Regions from separate parts of the Homo sapiens genome. Here region 2 is linked to region 1. The links are contacts of gene promoters, found by promoter capture Hi-C in blood cells and fetal thymus (Javierre and others, 2016). All regions are on one chromosome and are shown on one strand. The core of a region is centred on a gene start or on the middle of the fragment in contact, and the rest is flanking DNA. Distances in the headings are between cores, read along the strand shown.

What was found. Contacts are between HindIII fragments. The CHiCAGO score rates a contact against its expected background, and 5 or more counts as called.
Region 2: a fragment that was not itself captured here is called in contact with the fragment with the promoter of GINS4 in region 1 in 1 of 17 cell types (endothelial precursors); the score reaches 5.9 in endothelial precursors.

The regions. Positions count from the first base shown.
Region 1 is chr8:41,526,726-41,533,839 of GRCh38, reverse strand. GINS4 (GINS complex subunit 4) reads right to left here and starts at 4,579. Exons shown (of 8, transcript NM_032336.3): 1 at 4,444-4,579; 2 at 3,542-3,656. The coding sequence starts at 3,637. RefSeq lists a silencer at 4,604-5,033. The HindIII fragment of the contact is 13,395 bases long and covers 1-7,114 here.
Region 2 is chr8:41,138,771-41,145,884 of GRCh38, reverse strand. No RefSeq gene overlaps it. Among named protein-coding and RNA genes, the nearest start is that of MIR548AO, 130 kb to the left of the region's middle. The HindIII fragment of the contact is 4,498 bases long and covers 1,094-5,591 here.

The DNA.
Region 1 (7,114 bases), core at 3,330-5,829:
GGACTCGGAAGAAGACAACTATGCTGGCACTTTGACCTCAGCCTCTAGAATTAAGAAAATAAATTTCTATTTAAGCCACCCAGTCTTTGGGACTTCGCTCTGTGGCCCTAGCAAACTAAAACAATCACTAAAATGAGCAAATCTGCACTACAGGTAACAACTTTTAAATCACTTTTTACAGGCATTAAAGGGTATCCTATATATGCTCCTGGAGCTGTTCTCATCAGCAGCCCTGTCAGGCTGTCCCTTTGGCTGTGCCACACAGCATAAGAGACAGGATCTGGCTGTGGCAGCCGTGCAGGTGGCGGGTCACTTCCTTGGCTGCACTCAGGGCACTGCACTAGAGCATCAGGCATGAGATGTTACTGCAGCTTACCCACCAGCAAGCTGCAGCTGTGCTGTCAGAACCCCCGCCGCCCCATCCTCTAGCTGCCTTTCAAGGACCCCGATGATGCTCACTTGAAAAAGTAACCAGCCTGGGGCTCCAGCTGTCCTGGAAGGTGCAGGGGTCCACACAGAGGCATCTGTGGCATAGCAGTGTGCCACATCACCCAAGGGTGGCGGCTCTGCCTTGAACAATAATTTTGCAAGTTTGAACTTTACATAAAGTGTTTCTTTGGCAGCTCATATTTTATGGTTGTTATTGTTCTACATTAAGTTCCTGTTATTCATGCTGTTTCAGGAGTTATTTTACTCATTTTCACTGCTGTTTTATTCCCACTGTGTATGGTATATTTTCTCAATGCTATTTGTTTACGGTTGTCTAGGTTATTTTAATTTTTAACTATTGCAAGCAATGTGTGAACATACTGTGGATGTCTCCTAGAGTACATGCGGAAGTTTTCACTAGGTATGTACCTGGGGGTGGAACTACTGGGCCGCAGGTATGTGCACCTTCATCTTTACTAGACAATAACAAATTATTTTCCAAAGCGATTATACCTATTTATATCCCACGGCAGTATATAAGTGTGCAAATTGCTCTTCATTTTTTTTTTTTTTTTTTTGAGATGGAGTCTTGCTCTGTTGCCCAGGCTGGAGTGCAGTGGCATGATCTCGGCTCTCTGCAATCTCCACCTCCTGGGTTCAAGAGATTCTCCTGCCTCAACCTCCTGAGTAGCTGGGATTACAGGCATGCCAACAAGCCTGGCTAATTTTTGTATTTTTGGTAGAGACGGGGTTTCGCCATGTTGGCCAGGATGGTCTTGAACTCCTGACTTCAGGTGATCCGCCCCTCTCGGTCTCCCAAAGTGCTGGGATTACAGGTGTGAGCCACCGCACCCGGCCTGCCCTATATTCTTAATTTTCTCTTTTTGGGATAAGATCTCGCTATGATCCTCAGGATGGTCTCAAACTCCTGGGTTCAAATGAACCTCCCACTTGGGCTTCCTGAGTTGCTAGAACTACAGGCATGAGCCACTGCGCTCAGCTGCTCTACATTCTTGCCATACTTTATATTGCTCACGTTTTTCAGTTCTTCCAATCTGATAGATATGAGATGATATCTCATGATTTTCATTTTCCTGATTACTAAAAAGGTTGAACATCTTTTTCATATGCTTATTGGTCATCCTGTTTTCTTCTTCTCTGAGGTATCAGTCTGTACTGGGCAGTATGAAAGAGCTGTTTATGTACTGTGGATAATCATCTTGTGTCAGCTACATATTAGTATTTTGCAAATATCTTCTCCCAGCCTGGTGGCCTGTCTTTTCACTCTAATCCAGAAGTACAAACAGGCTGGGCACAGAGGCTCATGCCTGTAATCCCAGCACTTTGGGAGGCTAAGGCAGGCAGATCACAAGGTCAGGAGTTCAAGACCAGCCTGGCCAACACAGCGAAACCCAATATGGTGAAACCCCATCTCTACTAAAAATACAAAAAGTAGCCAGGCGTGGTGGTGCACACCTGTAGGCCCAGCTACTCAGGAGGCTGATGCAGGAGAATCGCTTGAACCTGGGAGGTGGAGGCTGCAAGTGAACCAAGATCACACCACTGCACTCCAGGAATGTATCCCTTTTTTCCTTTATGCTATGTGCCTTTTGATTTTTGTTTAATGAACCCTTTCCTAACGAACCAGGAATTCTTAATGCTGTTCCACAAACTAGGTCTGTGGGTGGATTTCAGGGGATCTCTGATCCCCTGGAAGTCATATGCAAAATTCTGCATGGGTGCATGTGTGCGTTATTGTGGGATGAAAGACCACAGTTTCTACCAGTTTCTCAAAAAGGTCTGTGATATAAAAACAGATTAAGAATCACTGCTAAATAGTAAGGATTATCATGTAAGGTATAATTTAAAAATCATTTTAGTTCCGTTTTGTCATTCGTGATATCATGTATGGCAGGGAAGAATGAAGAATACTAAAGTAGCAAACATGAGAGAGCTCTGGAAAGGGGCAGTTAGAGCAAGAGGATAAGGATACTTACTATGAACAGCTCACATCTAGTGAGTGCTTATCATGTGTCAGATAGCATGCTGAGTGCTTTACACAATTACCACATTTAATCAAAAACTCCAGGACATAGACACTATTATCATCTCAATTTTATTTTATTATTTTTTTGAGACGGAGTTTCACTCTTGTTGCCCAGGCTGGAGTGCAATGGTGGGTAGGATCTTGGCTCACCACAACCTCTGCCTCCCAGGTTCAGGTGATCCTCCGGCCTTAGCCTCCCGAGTAGCTGGGATTACAGGCATGCGCCACCACATCCGGCTAATTTTTGTTTTTTAGTAGAGACGGGATTTTACCATGTTGGTAAGGCTGGTCTCGAACTCCTGGACCTCAGGTGATCCGCCCACCTCAGCCTCCCAAAGTGCTGGCATTACAGGCTTGAGCCACCGTGCCCGGCCCTATTGTCTCAATTTTATAGGCAAGCAACGGCTTGAGACAAACTCCCTAACTTGCTCAAGATCACATAACAGAGGAGTGTCACAGACAGATTTAAATCCAGATAGTCTGAACTCCTGTTACCAGAGCATCATGAGATATAAGTGTAAAGAACACAGTTACTGGCACATGGGAAATATGCAGTAAGTCATAGCTATTACAACTTAAAGGAGAAATATTTCAGAAAGGATTTTAGATAAGCAGTGGACATATGGAGAGCAGACGACTCAAGAAAAAACATGTGAGAAAAAGGAAAAATATGACCAGTTTTCCCTTACAGGCATTTCAGCATTTTCTTGCTAAACAGGCATTCTCCAGGGAAACAGCAGATGTTCAAGGGACTAAGGTAAAGAAGTTCAGGGACCTCTACAGTCCCTGAAAATATCACGTGGATCCTTGCTCTGTGAACTGTTCACTGAATGTGCCCAAAGCTGTCCCTTACTGACCCCACTTGGGGATGCTGTGTTTGATATGATGAGGTCTCTAACAGAGGATGTCCTTCTTGCTTCCCGTTTCCATGTAGATGGTAAGATCCAGTCCCTGTTCTAAAGTAAGCCCCAAATTCCGTTTCCTCATCTTGTGATCCCTGATATTCACAGTTGAACTAAATAAAAAGGCTGACTGGAGCAAAGGGATTCGATCTGGGATGCTTACCTGCTCCAATCTTTCAATGAGCTCTGCAGGAGTTAGGACCACTTCCTCACTACCCCCATCAGAGTCCTGTCCCAGGAAATCCACTTCTTCGGTCATCTTCTCTGAAACCAGGAACCTAATGAGAGGGAAAGAACCAATACTCTGCAATGCGTTTTCTAATTATCTGCAAGAACAGACATCTATCTGGAGAAAGGAAAGGTTTATTGAGGTTTCCTGGGGTTGTAGAGGCCCTTTAGCAAGTGGTGAGAGAACGCAGGGACTCTAGTTTTCCAGTGTCTGCCTCTTCCTCCAAGGCTTAGGTCAGGTATCCGTTTCTCAAACAAGCCTCCCCCTTACTTCTGTCCACCAAGAGCTGAGCACCCATCACACCATACAATCACTATTCATTTCTTTGACTTCCCAGTAGAGGTCTTGTTCCTCAGGGACGGGGTTCGTTTTAGTTCAAATACGAATCGCGCCTCTGCTCAGTGCCTGGCACTAAGCACTGGGGACGCAATGACGTGGGAAGCCCCTGCGCTCAGCACAGCGCTTGACTCCTAGCAAGCACTTAACATTATTAGGAGCTGGCCGGGCTCACGCCTGTAATCCCAGCACTTTGGGAAGCCGAGGCAGGAAGATACCTTGAGCCCAGGAGTTCGAGACCAGCCTGGGCAACATAGGGAGATCCTGTCTCTATAAAAACAAAAATTGTTAGGAAGATTAATCAATGCTAATTTCCCAGAGCCACAAGGGCCGGCGACATTAGACCAGTCGGCGATCCCAAAGGCCTAAGGAGGTGGATGGCGGGGACAAAGAAAGTCCCTGGGGTCGCAAGGAAACTGCGAACATCCCCCTCCCCTCCTCCCTCTCAGTGCCACCCACACAGGCCTGCCCTAGCCACAGAGGTCCCATTCGACGCTCACTCGGGGACCTGGGAGACAGCGAGGCACTCCACAGCAGCCGGCGGTAAGGACGGGGCGTTCGTGGGGACGCAGTCGGGGCACCAGGAAGCGGGAAGACAGAGGAACAAACTGCTCAAGGACTTGCCGGGACCAACTCAACCCTGCAACTTCTCAGCTCCCGCGCTACTCTCGCAAAGTTTCCGCCCAGGCACGACGTCATCGCGCAAGGGCGACGCTGACCAATCAAGGCCCGGGGGGAAGAGCGGGGCGGTCTCCTTGGGCCCGCCCACCCGGCGGGCGGGGACTGTCTTCGCGGCGGCCTGCAGTCCCAGCAACCCAAGGACTTGAGGCGGCGGGAGGCTGGTCCGGGTTGGCCCCGCCCACCTGGGGGCCGGCCGCTCCGCTGTGCGGTCCGGGTTGCACTACCCAAGAGCGTCGGGAGGGGGCGCCCGCCACCGCGGCCAAGGGGAGCGGCGGTGTCCGCCCCGGGGGGTCCCACCCAGAAGTATGCTGTTGAAAGCAGGCCGCTGCAGCCTCCTGGGCCGTCTCCACCCACAGCTCTCGTGGCTCTTTGGGTTCCTCCGTCTTTGCGGGGTTTCACCTGTGGTCAGTGTGGTCATTGCCTTCAGAATCTCCAGTATATTCCTTTTCATCTTTCTTGAGACAGGGTCTCGTTCTGGTGCCCAGGCTGGAGTGCAGTGGCACCACCACAGCTCACTGCAACCTCCGCCTCCCGGGCTCCAGCGATCCTCCCACCTCAGCCTCCGGAGTAGCTGGGACCACAGGCCAGCGCCACCACGCCCAGTTATTTTTTAATTAAAAAAAAAAAAAAAAAGAACTGTGGCGGGGTTGGGGGTGGGGAGGTTCTCCCTATGATGGCCAGGCTGGTCTCGAACTCAAGGATCCAAGCAATCCTCCCACCTCGGCCTCACAAAGTGGGTACTGGTTCTTGAAGCCTGGGATCGGACGACCAGCAGAAGCATCGCCTGGGAATCCGTGAAAATGCAGGTTCTCAGGCCCCACCCTGGCCCACCGAATCAGAAACTGGGGGTATTTCACCAGACCCAGGCCCTCCCGGTGACCCTGACACAGCTGAGGTTTGAGAATCACTGCTTTGGGGCCGGGCGCGGTGGCTCACGCCTGTAATCCCAGCACTTTGGGAGGCCGAGGTGGGCGGATCACGAGGTCAGGAGATCGAGACCATCCTGGCTAACATGGTGAAACCCCGTCTCTACTAAAAATACAAAAAAATTAGCCGGGCGTGGTGGCGGGCGCCTGTAGTCCCAGCTACTCGGGAGGCTGAGGCGGGAGAATGGCGTGAACCCGGGAGGCGGAGCCTGCAGTGAGCCAAGATGGCGTCACTGCACTCCAGCCTGGGAGACAGAGCCAGACTCCATCTCAAAAAAAAGAAAAAAAAAGAAAAAAGAAAAGAGAATCACTGCTTTGGGGCAATGCTTTCAACTCACCTTCTGGAGGGGAAAAGCACAAAAACCCATGTCTGTATATGTATATATTTTTTCCATCTTTGTGTGATCCAGTTTTTCTTCTCTGAGTTGCTGATTCTTTTCTCTTTGCTGTCCTTTGTTTTCTGTGCAAAGCGTTGCTTCTGGCTTCCCTAAAAGTATCTCTTCTCCATCAATCTGAGGGCTCTTTGCAAAGCTGCCCTATGATGTCATATTGATTGACTAGTAAAATGATTGGCTAATATAGTATGATCGTACCTGCCTGATTACAATCCTGTTATGAAAATGACAATAGAATAAGCCGAGTGAGAGAGTAGGCATCTTTACAAAGCGCTGTGTAAGCTGGGGCATATCAGCACGGGATTCCCAAAAGGAAGGGACATTTGAGCTGTGTCTTATGAAATGAATTTTGTGAGTGGCAAATAGGTGGTTATTTCAAGGTCTGTTTCAACGGTTTGGTAATCCAGTGGTTTTTGGTTGTGGCAGAGTGTGTTTCCCAAACATAGCTGCTCTAATATGGATCTCACCCCACATACCCTTCTTACCATGTGACATTGACACTCCTCCATCAAGAGGTGGGGTCTATGTTCTCACCTTCTATTTATTTATTTAGAGACAGGGCCTCACTCTGTCGCGCAGCCTGGAGTGCAGTGGGGCGGTCACGGCTCATTGCACCCTTGACCTTCCTGGGCTCAGGTGATCCTCCCACTTCAGCCCCCATGAGTAGCTGGGACTACAGGTGTGTACCATGCCTGGCTAATTTTTTGTATTTTTGGTAGAGGTGGGGTTTCATCATGTTGCTCAGGCTGGTCTTGAACTCGGGCTCAAGTGATCTGCTCACCTCAGCCTCCCAAAGTGCTGGGATTACAGGTGTGAGCCACAGCGCCTGGCCCTGTTCTTGCCTTTTACATCAGGAAAGAGTTTTTTAACTGCTTTGACCAAGAGAATTTGGCAGAAGTGATGCTGCTTGGCTTCTGGGACTAAGTCATAAAAGGCAATGTGGCTTCCACTTGGCTCTTTTTTCTGGAGCCCCATCTCTTGAGAGCTGTGGGCTGACGTGGAAGAAGTCTGGCTAGCCTGCAGTCGATGTGCAAGAGAGTCGATATGAAGATGCCAGGCAGAGATGGGGAGCCTTACTGGAGGAACCCCAGAACCCCAGTTGTTCCATTCTCCAGATGTCTGGGTTGAATGAGCCTTCAGGTGATTCTAGTGCTGAGGCTTCAAACCGT
Region 2 (7,114 bases), core at 2,093-4,592, 390 kb after region 1:
GACCCTTTCTGAGTGAGGGTATTCATAGCCCTGCAAAAAAAAGCCCTGTATACTCTTTCCTGGTTCCCTTTTGAGGGTCTGAAGGGGCCAGAATGTCCCCCAGAAGTGCCAAAACATGAGAGATGAATGGAGTTGTGGATGAGGAGTGGCCGGTTACACAGACACAGACTGTGAAAGAGAAGCTTCTGGATCTGCTCAGAACTTCTGAGCCAGCTCTGTCCTTCCACAAATATTATTTTTCAGCAGGAAAGCCTTGGGCAAACACTAGTTTCCAGTTCAAATTCTGTTGGAAGCAGGGTCTAAGGCTTCGGTCAGGATGTGCTAAGCTTCAAACAAGTAGCAAGGTCAGGAACAAACTCCCGAAGTAGGATGGGCGAGAACCACTAGGTATGTGCCTGTTTGGGAAGATTCGTTCTTATTCGGCACCAGCCATAGTTGAAATTGTGAATGGGGCAATATTTATCTCAGAAATTTCTAGGTCCCTGGACCCTCTCCCCTACACTTTCCCCTCTCCTGCCCATCTCCCCACCCTACCCTCCTGGTTTTTCTCTGGGCTCACATCTGTCCTCAGCAAATTATTTGAAGCTCAGGCTCCTGGGGGTATAAACGACTGATAACAATTTACTGCATGAGATTTTATTTCAATGAAGGCCGGAGCTTTAGGCTAAAGAAATGAAGGTGGTAGGGGTGGTGTTCTGATCAGACTCTGATACTCAGGGCCCAGTCTTTCCAAAGGTGACAAGGTGAGGTGCTGGAGGTGTTTTTGTCTGTGTGTGGTCACGCAGTTCTGTGTTATTAGGTCTGGAAGAGAGTTACTGATTATTGTGTCTGGGGTTCTCAAAGTTAGTAGAATCACCCAGTCAGCTTGCATGGGCCAGGAATCCACACCGTTACCATGGACCTTGGTCATTTGAAATTGATGGTCCAGGCAGCAGACTTTGAGGGAAGTGCTGATCTAGTCCCTCACTGGACAGGGGAGGAGCAAGGATGGGAGAGACCCTCCCAGGGTGATGCCTCTCACTTCAACTCCAGTACACCTCCCAGAGCCTTAGCGGAGCCTCCACCACCTGCTACCCGGAGACCCTTGAAAGCTTCAATTCTGTGATTCTTGTTAAAAGGATGACACTGAGGGGAGGACACAGCACAAGCCATCTGCTAGCAAGCCTGCAGAGAACAAGTGTGGGCCCCAGGTTGGTCACTACTGATCTCACCTATGGGGCACAGAAGGGACCACATGCCCTTCCTTGCCACAATCAAGTGCTCTGATCACCTTGGGGGTCTGCCCCTCTGCGGCTCCTGCCCTGGACCCACACAGACCTGGAAGGTGTCCTTAAACAGTCGGTTTCCTCTGCACAGTCCTCGCCATGAATCTTTCTCAAGGGCTTTGAGTCTTTCTTGCTTAGCAAGAGTTCTATTCTCAGTTGGGTACCAAATATGCCCCCAGCCTTCACATTCATGTCCAGGTCTAGAGGGAAATTCTTTCTTAGGTTAGAGAGCGATCAAACACTGAAAGACTGACACATCTTCCTACAATTTCACAAAATGGCAACCAGCCAAAGGTGGCATTAACTTATGACTTGAAACAAGGGCCCGGCCCGTTCGTGACTCTGGTTCCTTGTTCTCTGCATGACATCCCTCTGAAGGAAGACGTTGGCCAGGGAGAGAGAGGATGCTGACACTCCCACTTTAGGGGAAAGCTGTGCTTGGCATTTGGTTAATTTTGTTTCCTTCTCATAATGTGCAGGATGTCAGGAAATCAATGAATCTAACTCTTGCCTTCCTGTCCCTGTCCTGCCTCTGTAGTCTTATGCCTTCTTGTAGTGGAAGGGCCATGTTTCTGCAAACAAGTGGCCTGGATTCATATGAAGAACTGCTCCTATGTCACATGCAAGTGTTTTCTTATTTAATTCTTTTTTTTTTTTTCTTATTTAATTCTTCAGAATCTTTTGAGAGAAGTGATATGACGTCCATTCTACAGATGAGGAGATTAAGGCTCAGGGCAGTTCCTCAACATACCCAAGGTCACCTGGCTGGTAAGCAGTAGAGCCAGAATTTGAACCCAAGTCTGCAAACTTCAACACTCATCTCCTTCAGATGAGACTGCAGCTTTGCAGTAGTTCTTGAGAATGAAATATCTCTGCACCTTGGTTCCCTCTTTTGTGAAAAGAAAATGGTGATATGCTTATTTAATTTTTGCAGGTCAGTGAAGCTATCATCATTACTATTATTATTAGGGAAAGGGTCTCACCGCGCCACCCAGGCTGGAGTGCAGTGGCATGGTCACAGCTCACTGCAGCCTTGACCTCCCAGGCTCATGCGATCCTTCCTCAGAAGCATCCCAAGTAGCTGTGACTACCAGCGCACCACTATGCCTAGCTAATTTTTTCTTTTTTTTTGTAGAGATGGCATCTCATTTTCTTACTCAGCCTGGTCTCAATTTCCTGGCTTCAAGTGATTCTCTCTCCCTGGCCTCCCAAGGTGCTGGGATTACAGGCATGAGCTACTGCACCTCGCCCAGTGAAATTATTTAGATGGGTAAGTGAAGAAAGAAAAGAGTGAAGAACAATCAAAAGAACCAAAAAAATGAGTGTAGTGGAGGCAGAGATGCCCAATTCAGGGCACATAGTAAGTGCTCAATAAATACAGGTGGGCTGGATGGATGAAACTCAAAGCAAATATGACCAAAGCCTACTAAACTGATGAGTGGGAATAGCCGGAGGGAGCTTTTCCAGAACACCCAGTTCAGGAACACTCTTCACGGCTTGAAAGAAGTACAGTGTAGAATAAACAAAAGGAAGTACTGTTGTTTCCAAGGTAGTAAATTTAGAGAGCGCAAGAGTCAGTCCAGATTAAAAATATAAATCTCTGCGGAAACAAGTAAATTGTGCATGATGAATCCATAAAAAATAACCAGGGGCGACATCTCCTGCCTTTGAGGCCAAGGTCAAGTGGGCCCTCCCCTAAATACCCGTGGGCTGGGTGAGCAGGGTGCTAAATCTTGGGTTCTGAATCCAGCGTTAACTTTAGAAAGTTTTCATCTCCTCCTTCTTCAGCTCTTTGGCATATTCTTGCTCTGTGTTCTGGTTTTAGGGAGTTACCAGCTTGATAAACTACAGGAAACCCGCATGCATTTTACATCCAATTTATAGAGCCCTGACTCTTAACAGTGCCTAAATAATCCACGGTGAAGGCTGCTCAATGGGTCATGTAATCCATTTGGAGATGGTGTGCCCCACTTTGGAGACTGGCTGTGTGTCTGGCTTCCTTTTCCAAGGTTTCTCTGTTTGTGCTAGGGAAGGGACAAGGGATGTAGTTTTGGTACCCTGCTTGCCTACAATCAAAAACATTAGCTTTCTTCCCAGACAACCCACCAAGAAAGAAGGGCCCTCTTCCTGAGGCCGGGCAGCTGTTTCTTCCAAGTTTCTTCAGCCTCTGGCTCTTGTCCTAGGGCCTTGGATCTGTCCCCAAAGGCAAGGCAGGACTTGTCAGTGGCACCAGGCTCCGAATCTGACCCCACATCCTTTTGGGAAGAGCTGCAACCTTTCACTGGCTGCTCTACCTGTGTTCAGATTGACTGGAAAACTGTCGTGAACGCTGGGGGCTCTTTTTAGAGCATCCCCAACCTGTATCCCATAATCATAATCCTGATTGATTTCCCCATTTGGCTCTGTGGTGACAGCTGGCCAGTGGGGGCGACGCTTTCCTCATTTGGACTGCAGGTGTCCCTGGTGCTCTCCCAGAACCTGGACTGATGTCCTGAGCTTCTCCCTCTTGCTAATGTTGGGGCAGAGGATTTGAAGTGGCCACACCCCATCCCCATCATACCACCATCCTCTCTGCCTCCGGATGTAGCCTCTTCATCCCCTTCTTCCAGCATCTTCAGACCCTGTCCTCTGGGCCTGATGCAGCATCCCCTGTTGAACCTGCCGGGAGATGGTCTGTTCCCCGCAGACCTCCAGTCTTGAACATTCCTCTGCCATGTGCTGTACCTGATCAGCCAGGGTCCCTGCAGGAAACAGATGGCATGCTGGAACCGGGAGATTTGAGAGGGTGTTTAACACAAGGGCTTTTTACAAAGGTGTGGGAAGAGTGTAGGCTGGCCACGAAGTATAGTGAAGAACACAGGACTGGAACTGGGGAGGTCTTACCCCCACTGGGCTTAAGGAACAAGGGCAGGGGACAGTATCAGAACCAGCCCGGCAGGACTTGCAGCCAGCTTGCAGCGGTACCCCTGGGAGGGGCATGAGGAAGTAGATTTCCCGATCTTTCTTGGGCTGAACTCAACAGGAAGACAGAAGTTATGTGGGCTTGCTGTTGTGCACATGTCCAGTTTTCAGGAGCTCATGGCAGAGTGGAGGATAGAAATTCCATCTAGAGGGCAAAGCAGAAGAGATCCAGCACAGCGTGCACATCAAACCGTGTACACTAGCCGGGCACGGTGTCTCACACCTGTAATCCCAGCACTTTGAGAGGCTGAGGCAGGAGGGTCGCTTGAGCCCAGGAATTTGAGACCAGCCTGGGAAACATAGTGAGACCCTGTCTTTACAAAAAATAAGCAAAATTTAGCCAGGTGTGGTGATATGCACTTGTAGTCTCAGTTACTCAGGAGGCTGAGGCAGGAGGATCTCTTGAGCCCAAGAAGTCAAGGCTGCGGTGAGCTGTGATTGTGCCACTGCACTCCAGCCTGAGCAACAAAGTGAGACCCTGTCTCTAAATAAAAATAAATAATAATTTTTAAAAAGGCTTACATTGTGTTTTCAGAGGAGATTTCCACAGGCCTTTCCTATTGTAGGCAACTCATCTCCCCTCCACTAATGAGAGAGGCTGTGGGCAGTGCTGTGGTTTGGATGTTTGTGTCATTTGGATGTTTGTCCCCTCACACTTCTGTTGAAATTTAATCCCCATGTTGAAGGTGGGGCCTAGTGCAAAGCATTTGGGTCAGGGGGCAGATCACTGATGAATAGATTAATCCCCTTCCTGGGGGATGAGTGCATTTTCATTCTAGTTCCTGCAAGAGCTGGTTGTTAGGAAGAGCTGGGCCCCCTCTCCTCTCCTGCTTCCTCTCTTGCCCTGTGATCTCTGCATGTGCCAGCTCCCCTTCCCCTTCCATCAGGAGTGTAAGAAGCCTAAGGCCCTCCCCAGATGCCCAGTCTTCCAGCCAGCATCATCATGAGCAAATAAACCTTCTTCCTTTATAAATTACCCAACTTCAGGTATTTCTTTATAGCAACACAAAGGAATAAAGAAAGCCTGCCCCGTGCGGCTCTCACTCCCCAGGGTTTGGGATAGCAGGATGTAAGTTCTGGTTGGTTCCATTGGTTGAAACAGCAATTTGAAACCAGGAAAGAGTCCTGAGTCCTTTCAGACTGAAAACCTACCTGTGTAAAACCTGAACTGGCTCAAGCAAGGCCATCTCAAAAGCATGCTCAGCATTAATCACAGGGCTCTCAGGATATTGTTAAGACAAAAATTTGAAATTTACTTCCAGTGATTTCAGAAGAGGAAAAAGAGATGGTGCCCCTTGCCCTGTCCTGTGCTGTCCCACTCCCCCCATGCACAGACACACCGAGCTCAGGTGCCCAGGTCAAGCTTTCCTGCCACTCTGCACAGGGAACAGAGCGGGTGGCAGCACATCCTGGTTAGTGTCTCCAAGATTCGCGATGTTGGGAGGGTGTGCAACCACCGGATAGAAGCCAGAAATAAGTGTCTGAATGTGACAAAGAGCATGTGTGTGTGTGTGTGTGTGTGAGAGAGAGAGAGAGAGAGAGAGAAAGAAAGAAAACTAGGCAGGAGTTTTAGGCAGGGGAGAAGCAGGGAACACATGGAATCACATCCTCCTTGTGGTCAGGGAGAGCAACCCATTGTTCGTGGAGTGCCTGCTATGGACTTGGCCTGGTAACAGCCTCCCAGAGGTCATGTGATTTCACATTTATTGCACAACAAACCCATGAGGCATGCAGTGTTACCGAGTTTGAAATAAGAAGACTGGGGGAATCAGGGAAGTTATGTCATTTGTTCAGTGTTAAACAGCAAACACATGGAAAAGTGTGGGTTCAGACCCTGCTCTCCTGACTCTACAAAGTCATTTACACTAGAGTTAATTTCACTCGGTCTGAGGAGAACACTATTCCGTTCTGTATTCTTTTCTGTTTGGTTCCTCTACTGATGCATGTGCATGCATGCACATGTGTGTGTGTGTGTGTGTGTGTCTGTGTGTCTGTGTGTGTGTATGTGTGTGTGTGTCTGTGTGTGTGTTGGGTGCACAGGGTGAGAAAAAAAGAGGAGAAGAAAGTAAGCATGTTATTCCTAATTATTTGCTTGTCCTGACCATAAATGCTTGGCTAGAATTCGGAAAGAAACTTTTAATAATATATGTTGTAAGAGAGAGGTGGGGTCTCACACATGTTGTGTACCTGGCTTTATACACAGCATCACTGGCATGGATGAATCCCTGGTGGCCTTCTGAGTTTTCTGAAAACTTTCATAGATCAATACCAGGTTGATTTTCACTTAGAACTCCTGACTTCAAGTGATCTGCCCACCTTGGCCTCCCAAAGTGCTAGGATTTTAACTTAGAAGAGGTAGAAAATGGGCACAGCTGAGGCAGGAAGGGATCCAGGTGGAATAAGGAGTATCTCTGCAGATGGCAAGATCTGGGAAATCCAAGATGCACAGCCTCTAAAGCAGGGGCTCCTGCACACTCCTCTGGCTGTCCCTCCTCTGTATGTCCAGGAGGTCAGTGCAGGGTGGGTAGCAGTCAAAGAAAAGCCCCTACTGGGAGAAGACTGGATGGGGCAGAGTGGAAAGTGCTCTGGACTGAAAGCCAGACTTGATTTGATCCTCCCAGCTCTGACACCACCACAAAGTCCTGAACCGTGGCCCTGAGAAGCTCTGTGGGTCTCAATTTTCTTCATGCTAAAATAAAAAGGGTTGTCTAATCAGGGATCAGCACACTATGGTCTTGGGGCCAAATCCAACACCTCACCCTGTTTTTGTAAATAAAGTTTGATTGGAGCACAGCCATGCTCAATGTTTTACATCTTATCTGCGGCTACTTTTTATACTACGATGGCAGAGTTGGTTCTCCCAGCAGAGGACAGACGATCCATGAAAC